Linked DNA regions of Homo sapiens: region 2 is linked to region 1. The links are contacts of gene promoters, found by promoter capture Hi-C in blood cells and fetal thymus (Javierre and others, 2016). All regions are on one chromosome and are shown on one strand. The core of a region is centred on a gene start or on the middle of the fragment in contact, and the rest is flanking DNA. Distances in the headings are between cores, read along the strand shown.

The links. Contacts are between HindIII fragments. The CHiCAGO score rates a contact against its expected background, and 5 or more counts as called.
Region 2: a contact is called between a fragment that was not itself captured here and the fragment with the promoter of GTF2B in region 1, in 1 of 17 cell types (activated CD4 T cells). The highest score is 6.6, in activated CD4 T cells.

The regions. Positions count from the first base shown.
Region 1 is chr1:88,890,215-88,895,245 of GRCh38, reverse strand. It overlaps GTF2B (general transcription factor IIB), which reads left to right and starts at 3,679. Exons shown (of 7, transcript NM_001514.6): 1 at 3,679-3,763. The coding sequence starts at 3,747. RefSeq lists an enhancer at 3,394-3,503. The HindIII fragment of the contact is 16,776 bases long and covers 1-5,031 here.
Region 2 is chr1:89,461,699-89,466,436 of GRCh38, reverse strand. No RefSeq gene overlaps it. Among named protein-coding and RNA genes, the nearest start is that of LRRC8B, 61 kb to the left of the region's middle. The HindIII fragment of the contact is 6,077 bases long and covers 1-4,738 here.

The DNA of each region.
Region 1 (5,031 bases), core at 2,430-4,929:
TTCACATTTTTAGGAACAATACATATGGTCTTATAGCCACCAGGCACATGAGGCTTGTCTAATATCCTAGGCATCTTTTTCCATCTCCAAAAGAGTCTAGTAGGATCTGGTCTGTTCATACATTCCATCAAATCCTCTGTTCTTCCTAGTCCAAGAGGATATGTCTTTTAATTTCCAAACAAATATTTCTGAAGCCTTGCTTAAGTTGGGGAATTGCCATCTTCTCCAACATCACCATGCAGACACTTAAAAATGTTTTCAAAAGTGAAACCATGAGGTAAATCTAATGACCCTCTAAAACATTATGACAGGTAAAATAATCCAGACACAAAAGACGACGTATCATATGATTCCATTTATATGAAAAGCCCAAGAAAGGCAAATCCATAGAGACAGAGAGTAGATTAGAGGGTCATGGGGCTGGAAATGGGATAGGCATATAATGTAAATGGGCATAAAAGATCGTATTGGGATGATGGAAATGTGCTAAAACAGGATTGCGGGGATGGTTGTACAACTCAGTTGCCAAAAATCATTAAATTTTAAACAGGTGAATTTTACTATATGTAATTATATCTCAATAAAGTTGATTTTTAAAAAAGAAATCTAGCTAGGTCACAAGCATTTTTTTTTTTTTTTAGATGGAGTCTCGCTCTGACACCCAGGCTGGAGTGCAGTGGTGCAATCTTGGTTCACTGCAACCTCCACCTCCTGGGTTCAAGCGATTCTCCTGCCTCAGCCTCCCAAGTAGCTGGGACTACAGGTGTGTGTCAACACACCTGGCTAATTTCTGTATTTTTGGGAGAGACAGGGTTTCACCATGTTGGCCAGGCTGGTCTTGAACTCCTGACCTCAGGTGATCCACCTGCCTCGGCCTCCCAACGTGCTGGGATTACAGGCGTGATTCACGATGCCAGGTGGGTCACAAGCATTTTTAAATCATTTATTAGTCATGTAAAACATTTTATACTTAAAATGAACTATAGCACATCAACTTGAGATTTCACAGTAGTGATATAAACTTTTCGAATAACTTTCTAAGTAAAAAGATGAATTAATTTAAACCATTGCTTTAAATCATTTTAATTTACATAATTAATTTAAGTAACAATTATTATACAAACCAGAAGTTTTGGTGAATGCTAGTTAGGTTATTGGTTCCCAAGTGATAAAACCCCAGCTCTGTGTGTGTGTGTGTGTGTGTGTGTGTGTGTGTGTATTTTAACCTCAAGATCAATAATAAATATTAAATGGGATTATGTTGATTAAAATGCTTTGTAAATTTCCAGTGCTGTACTAACAAAAGAAAACGAATGGCTTACCTAAGGTGCCTTCTATTTTAATACAAAAGAAATTCTTACAAGTTTATGACAGACAAGAGACTCTCCAGGTGGGGCAGGAGTTAATTTAACCAGTAGTGCTGCCTCCCTTTTCTAGGGTTTCAATTTCTTCCTTCAACAAACATTATTGAATGCCTACCATGAATCCACTAGGTGCAGGTCCATGTTCTGGATCCTTAAGAGATGCACAGTTGTCTTATTCCTCCTCTTCCTCCAAGTTAAGATGCTTTACTATGAAACCTCTACTGGACTGAGGTGCAGCACCCCCAAGCCCTTTCCTGGTTGCACTTGACAAAAATATTGAGGGAGGAAAAAACCCCCACAAGAGTACAGTCAAGTTTTTAAAATTACAGAATTACAAAATAGAAGATTGGGATTGGGAAAGAAAAAAGAAATCATGCTCCCCGGTTCCCACCTAGATTTGAGTTCCTAAAATCCTGCCTCTCGCACCCCTTTTTCTTTCTAAGGAAGCTAGTATCTCCCACCTTCTCAAGAAAACAGTGAGTGCTCCATTACATTTAAATCCCATCCCCAGATGAAGGAAGCAGTCATTATCTTCTAAGTTCTCAGCCCCATGAAAACCACCATGAAAATACCAATCCCCGTATTTTCAAGAATAGTTGTCAGCAAAGTGTTGCCGCAGGAGAATACTGTCTGAAGGCAGGGAACCTAAGGCAGATTCACACTGATTTCCTAGAACTAAATCAAATGGAAAACCCCGGCCGGGCGCGGTGGCTCACGCCTGTAATCCCAGCACTTTGGGAGGCCAAGGCGGGCGGATGACGAGGTCAGGAGATCAAGACCATCCTGGCTAACAGGGTGAAACCCCGTCTCTACTAAAAATACAAAAACAAAATTAGCCGGGCGTGGTGGCAGGCTCCTGTAGTCCCAGCTACTCGGGAGGCTGAGGCAGGAGAATGGCGTGAACCTGGCAGGCGGAGCTTGCAGTGAGCCCAGATCGCGCCACTGCACTCCAGCCTGGGCGACAGAGCAAGACTCCGTCTCAAAAAAAAAAAAAAAAAAGGAAAACCCCAACTTTCCACACCTAAGTAACAAAAGAACCAGACGTTACTCCCTTTGCAACCCCCTCCCCACTACACAACCACACACACACACACACACACACACACACACACTTTAGCCGTGTGGCAGATGTGAAATTGAAAGTATCTCTGATTCGTTGCTTTCTGCAACCAATCAGACGCTTGCATAGGAGTGTAACTTTGTAACTTCACTTTAGCCTCTGATTGGTTGCTTTCCACAACCAATCAGACTGATTGTGGAGCCACTACTTCATTTACATAGGGTGTACACCATGTAACCAATGGGAAACCTCTAGAGGGTATTTAAACCCCCGAAAATTCTGCAAAAGGAGTCTTGAGCTGGTATTACCTTTTCGTTTTCAATAAATCTCTGCCTTTATTCCTTCATTCTTTCCTTAGTTTGTGCGTTGTGTCCAGTTCTTTGTTCAAAACGCCAAGAACGTGAATACTCTCCACCGGTAACTGTTATTGTTGTTAGTAATAGTGGTATTACAATTTTGACGTTAGTTTGGCTAATTAATAAATCTAGGGATATTTTGCAATATCTAGATGTTCTCGCAAGTTTTCTATATGTAGCTATCAGCCAACGTTACAAAGGCCGTGAAAAAAAAATGATCAGAGCATGGCCCATATCGTCGTGCCTCTTGTGTACACATTGGTTTCACGTAGTTTTGTTTCATCTTCTGCCAATTCTAAAAGGGTATGCAAGGCAAGATACCATAACCTATATAAACTTACATGACCTGTATAAAGGACGTGCCTAAGAAGACAACATGCTAGCTGATGACAGATCCTGAACAGACACCTGTTCTGGATGACCTAAGTGAGTTTCTCCTTTTATTTCAAATTTCTTAGAAAGAATCACCCTTGGGGCACGTAAGAACTGGCTCAAATGGGAGTGCCTGACGCGGGGTGGGGGGCTGGGGGCGGGGTAGGTGGTGGCCGTGAGAAGGTAGCCGTGAGAAGGTGGGAGAGGAAGGGGTGGTTAAACTATTAGGGATGCAGGCTTTGGCACCACTACGAAGCCAGGGTTTTCTTTGTGTTTTAACTGTCAGATTGAGAGTAGCTCTGTTGTAGCCCCTTTGCAGGGTTCCCATGAGACTTTTCCTAGGTAGTTACGTTGACTCGCTTAGCAACATAGCAAATTACAGAAACGGAGTAAGAACGTAAGAAATCGCAAAGCACGTGACGTATGGGATCTCACTGTTCTTGGCCCTTCTCCCGACCCGTAGCCCTGCTCTGCTACGACTGCGTGGGTGAGTCGTCTATAAAAACTCATCTCTGCGCGTCTCTTCGCCACATTCGCTTCCTGCTTTCGGTGTGTCTGTTGTGTCTTGTTGCGGGCACCGCAGTCGCCGTGAAGATGGCGTCTACCAGCCGGTTAGTATGTCCCGCCGAGCCCGGCGAGCTGAGGGGCGGGCGCGAGCGCCGCCGGCTTTTAGGCGGCCTCCGGGCAGCCTCGTAGGGCTGAGCGCCTAGGGGTATGGGAGAGAAGCGGCGGGACTGGCCGACGGGCCGGGACAAAGGCACTTCCAGACGGCAGGACTGTCAGGGTGTCGCAGGGGTTACCGAGCTGTTGACGTTATTGCCCTGGAGTCTTATGTAGATATCACCCTATGTGGGTCCTGGTGGGCTACTGTGTCCCCAGTCCTTGCCCTCGTATCTTTTCCCAATATTTCAATCTCCCTTTATTTTCTCTTCTTCCCACCCTCCCTCCTCTCCTCCCCCGCGCCCCCCCCCCCGCTTGTTTTTTTCATCTACGGCCCAAACAACCCGAGGGTCCGTAATTTCTCCTTTTCAAAGGAACGGGAAACAGTTAGTTTCAGGTTCCTATCGATCTGACAGCTAGGAAGTTGGGAACGTCAGCATTGGTAAGCCAGATGGAACCTGGTTGGTTACCATCACAGCGGGCCTCGGAAGTGGAAGCTAGAGCCATCGGAAGAGTTGATTAGTTCCCTGCTAAAGGATTTGTTTACAAATATCGTTGCCTGTGTACTTCTGAAGAAAATCTTGCCAAAGAAAATTAGTTATATGTGCTGGGAGGTCGCTTTTTAGTATATATTTAAGAATGCAGTGTACTCATATCTACAGGAAATGCATGCAGTACCCTCAGAAACAGCCTTTAATCTTGTGACCTGAAAAATGCTTGCAGACCCTAATTATGTCTCTCATTACCACTGTGAGGTAGATATTAGTATTTTTGCATAAGTGTAAACTGAGTCATGCCAATGTTGACTTTTCCAAGAGTCGTGTTAGAGTGTAGAGTCTAAGACAACCTGTTTCCTGTTATCCACACCTGGCCTTTGGTTAACTAATCCTGTGTTGAAAGTATCAAATTAATTCTACAGCTTCTGGAACTCTGGCACTATTTTTCTGACCCTGCTATCATCTGTGGAATTGGTTAATTTCACAGTGAAAGCCATTTTTACAAAATAGCCTTTTCTGGTAACTGCCAAGACTTACATTTTATGATTAGAAAAGGAATTTGGGGTGGGAGGCAGCTTTAGCTAATATACTGTTTGAACAGAACTCATAAAGCCAGTGACACTCTTGTTTACTGATTCTGATTCTTGGATTGGATGCTCAGTCATTCTATCTGGGTGTTGTTCTGTCGGGTAAGGCCTCCTTGTAGGTAAATGGAAAACTTG
Region 2 (4,738 bases), core at 1,707-4,206, 570 kb before region 1:
ACCAGTATCACAGAGGTATCACCAGGAAAACTACTTGTGTGACCTGTCCTAACACAATAATTTTTATTTTTAATTGTTCTGGATTTATCCTTCTCACAGAAGTTTCGATATTATACTGAACTTCATTCAGGACAAAAGGATGCTTCCCTAGCACAGCAGGGATGTGGTTTTGTGGTTTTAACATGAGTTGATGGACTGGCTATTATTCTAGATGCTGTTATCCATGATCAGGATTTGCTACAATTGTCATTCTGGACAGCTATTGATTAAAGCCTCTTTGCTTACCAAAAATAGAAAACACACGTTTATTGAGCCTTCATCCTGTGCCAGGCCTTATAGAAGTGTACATCACAGAGGTATTTAGTCCCCAATTTGTTTTGATAGTTCTGTCTAAACTTTTAAAGAAGAAGCCAATTTGGATAACACAAATGGTCATTGCTCAAGTAAAGCTGAAACACCCTGTCATTTGTATGTTCATAAACACTTGCAAAATACTTTCTATGAGTTCCCTAACCCTCAGGATGATGCCAGGGGCAGGTATTATAATTAAGAGCTTCTAGTAAAGGGAGTTGAAGTTTAAAGATATTAAGTGATTTTTCCGAGATCCCTTTAGTGGTGGTAGAGTAGGGTGCTGAGGCATACTGGAAAGGGCATGGCATCAGAGAGACCTGAATTCAACTTCCACCGTCTCTGTCATTTCCTGCGTTACCTTAGACAGGTTCCTGAAATATATCTGATCCTGTTTTTCATATTCCTTGGCTTTGACATGGGGTTCTTGATGGGTTTAAATTAACTAATGAGTGTGGAAGTGTCTGCAACCTGAAAAGTGTTGTCAGAGTGTGAGTCACTCTTATTTAATCTTTAGGTAAGTGATTACAGTGTCACAGACCACATTTCAAGTCAGACAGAACTAGTTGTAACTAGCATGTGCTGCATGAATTTGAGTGTGTTACTTGAGCTCTCTGGGTATGTGTCTCCTCAGCTGTAAAATATGTGTCATAATGCAACCTTGTGTATTGTGAATATTGACCAAAGCCACAGAAGTGAAGCTGTGGTGCACAGCTCACAGGAGGCACTTGGTGAATGTCAAGGCTTCTCTTTCTAGAATCAGCCCAGTGTCTGTATTGGGACAGCACCATCTCCTTAGGAGAGCACTGCCTGCATTAGTCTAGCACAGGAGATCTGTAATGGACTATGCGGGCCATTCCATGGATAAGTAATCTGACCTAGAGAGGTGAACTGACTTTTTCAGGTCATAGAGCTAATGGCAGAGTTGAGAGTTGAACTGCATTCTGATTTCAAATTCAGTAATTTTTTTTAACATTATTAACATTTTCAAAATTCAATAATACATTTTAAAAATTGTCCTTGCCCTGTAAAAGTGATTTGTATTAAGAACACATTCGTATATGTAGATAGCATTGCTAGTGCAGGTGAATCAAACCTGAATTGTTCTACATCACAAATAGCCAGTATAGAAGTTTAAGTGCAGAAAGATTTCTTTGTATATCTTGGGGTATTCTCTGTAACAGAACCACAGTGCTCCCTTGGAAACAAGGTGTCCACTTTTAATGTCTACATTTTACTTGATTTTAAATTCTCTATAGCTATTACTTCAGAGACTTATACTTGTTGACAGCTATGTGTAGTGGAAAGAGCCTAGCACTGAGGCGGTCAAGAGATCTGGATTCTAGTTCTGGATTTGGCATTACTTAGCTATTGTTCGCTGTTGGAAATGTAACTACTACTCCTATGACAGCTTGAAATATCTTGAAGTGAATCTGAATGATTTCTAAGTGTATTAGTTTCCTGTTGCCACTGTAACAAATTACCACAAATTTAGTGGTTTAAAGAACACAATATAAACTCTTACAATTCTGGAGGGTGGTCAGAAGTCCAAAATGGGTCTCATGGGGCTAAAATCAAGGCATTGGATTCTTCTGGAGTCTCTAGGGAAAAATCAGTTTCCTCGCCGTTTTCAGCCCTTAGAGGCCCCTGCACTCCTTGGTCATGGCCCCTTCCTGGGATCACTTCCACCTTTTGCTTCCATCATCATCATGTCTCCTACTCCTCTCTGACTTCTCCAATGTCTTTCGTGTAAATACCCTTTTGACTTTATTGTGCTTCCTTGAGTAATGTAGGAGAAGCCCCTCATCTCAAGATCCTTGACTGGATCACACCTGCAAAGTTTCTTTTACCATACAAGGAAACATTCAGAGGTTTTTGAGGTCAGGATGTGGGCACATCTAAGGGGCATCATTCAGCCTACCAAAGAAACCACAGTGGTCAATGATGGATGATTGGGGAATGCGGTCAGAAAGAATGAACTTATTTTTGGTACCTTCACTTATTTCTTGAATATATGAACAGATAGCAGATAATATAGTGTATGAGATTCAGAGTCATGTAGACCTGCATTAAAACCCCAGCTATACCACTTACTAGCTGTTTGACCTTAGGCAAAAAATATAATTTCTCTGAGTTTCTGCTTCTTCATCTGTAAAATGGGAATAATAATATGAGTTCTATATGTCTGTGCGTGTTTTTGTGTGAGGATTAAAATAACATATGTGAAGCGATTAGTACAATAACTAGTACAGATCAAGGTCTCAGTAAATGAGGCTATCACAACTGAAGCTGAGCCTTGCTTCTAACTCAGTGTACTTCTCAATATTTATCTGTGCAAGGGACCAGTTTTGTTTACTGTTACCTTAATTTTAATATTTTTATCTTTCCCCTCCAGTTATCATTCCCATTTCTTCCCCTGCCTTTTCAATAAGTCCTGTTTAACACACTTGCTATGTGTCTTTGAATGTACATATTTTATATAAAATCATATAGCATTATTTTATACGTGTGTGTTTCTAATTAAATGGGATGTAAAATACATTTAATGTTTCTTATTTTTTTCCACTCACTTTTGTGTTGTTCAAGATTTGTCCATCCAGCATGTTAGTTTTCCTCTCTGGCTATGGTCATCTAGGGTGCTTCAGTATCCCCTGCCATAGATGCCTATGCATTTACATGTCCCTGTAGAGAAGTTGGAAAGAGTTGCTCTGGGATATACATTCAGCAGTTGGAAGAAGGCTTATGGTACAAGTATTGCCAGATTGCTCTCTAGAAAGACTATACCATTTCTTCTTCTACCAGAAGAACAAATGTTCTTGTTTAGCATTGGTTTGCTGACATTTAGTGTTTTCTGACTCTGATTTTTTTTTTTTTTACAGGTGATAGTTACAAAGTGGTATCAGATTTATTTTTTAATTTTTTAACACTAGTAGGGTTGAGCACTATATATTTACTAGTTTTCAGGTTTTTCCATCCTATGGATACAAATAGTATGCATAATTTATATGGATATAAATTATTTGCTCATTATTGGCTTAACTAGCTTTTTGTTTTAGTTGCTTGTTAATTTGTTGGTATGTCTTGAATGTTCTAGATATTACTTCTTTATTGGGTTAATACATTTAAAATTTCTTGTTGAAACCTCTCAGGCTTTTGCTAACTTTATCACATATATATGTGTATATATATATTATAATGTTATATATTCTACATATACCCAGATGTAGATATTACATCAATTTTAGGTGCTGTAACTAGCTTTGCCAAGTCATCTGTATTTTATGGATTTGAGGGTTCCCTTAATGAAAAGAAATTCAACGATTTTCCCTCTATGATGTGTAATTGTTTTGGAGTCTTCTTAAAAAGATCTTTCCCACCCAAGATAAAAAAGATTCTTTCCTATATGGTCTCATTTGGCCTTTCTGAAAAGTAACCAGTTGCAGAAGATGCTCAATTATGTGAAATTAGTAAATATAGAAGAAGCATCAGTTGATTACTGTAGCAGTTCAACACTAAGGAATATGATGGTTGGTTTGGTTAAATTTTACTTAAAGTGATTCAACTTAAACTTGGGGGGAAAAAATCTTAGGTCAACAATTAGTCGGTACTTAGTCTCTGCCAGGTGTGGACTGAACTATCCAAAGCATGCTGGAGTTGGAAAGAGCCAATGGGAGAAATGAGGCAAGGGTCACGCTGAGTTCAGCCCAGAATTTGGGGCATGCTCTACAAAACCGTGCTGCCTAGGGCTGGCCACAGAGTCACTGGGGGCAAAAGGACTAACAAAACTGTAAAAGTGTGTGTTGGGGTAACAGCCATTTTGAAAATGTTTTAATGGTGATAAGAATGCATGTGTCAACCATGGATTAAGAGAATGATAACACTTTGCAGCAGATTTTAGACACACACTGCTTGCTTATGGCGAAATTCCTAGAAAGTTACCTGTGGAGCTTAATAACTTCTAGTCACTTCCTAGTTACCTGGAACCTTTTTAAAGGAAGAGATCATGTATTACTTGTTTGACTTCCTAACATGCAGCACAACACCCAGCACAGAGTAAATGCTTAGCTAACATTTGCTAATGGGATAACAGCAGCAGATTAGTGCAGGGAGCACCTTCATCATCTGTCTATGCTGTAAGGCAACGCAGTCTGAAAGACTGTGTTGAAATAAGTTCACTGGAAAAAACCCAAAGCCTTCCAATGAATACTCAGTCACTTTCATGGTTAAAACCGTAGAAAAGTGCAAAGCACCTAAAGCCATAGATGAGTTTATGAGCCTAGGTAGCTGTCACCTAGCACTGGCTTCAAAGGAATGACGTTATGTAAGACAGAGTACAAATTGGGGATGGGAGTGTGGGTGTAAGGGCAAAGGTAAAGGAAGGAGGTACCTT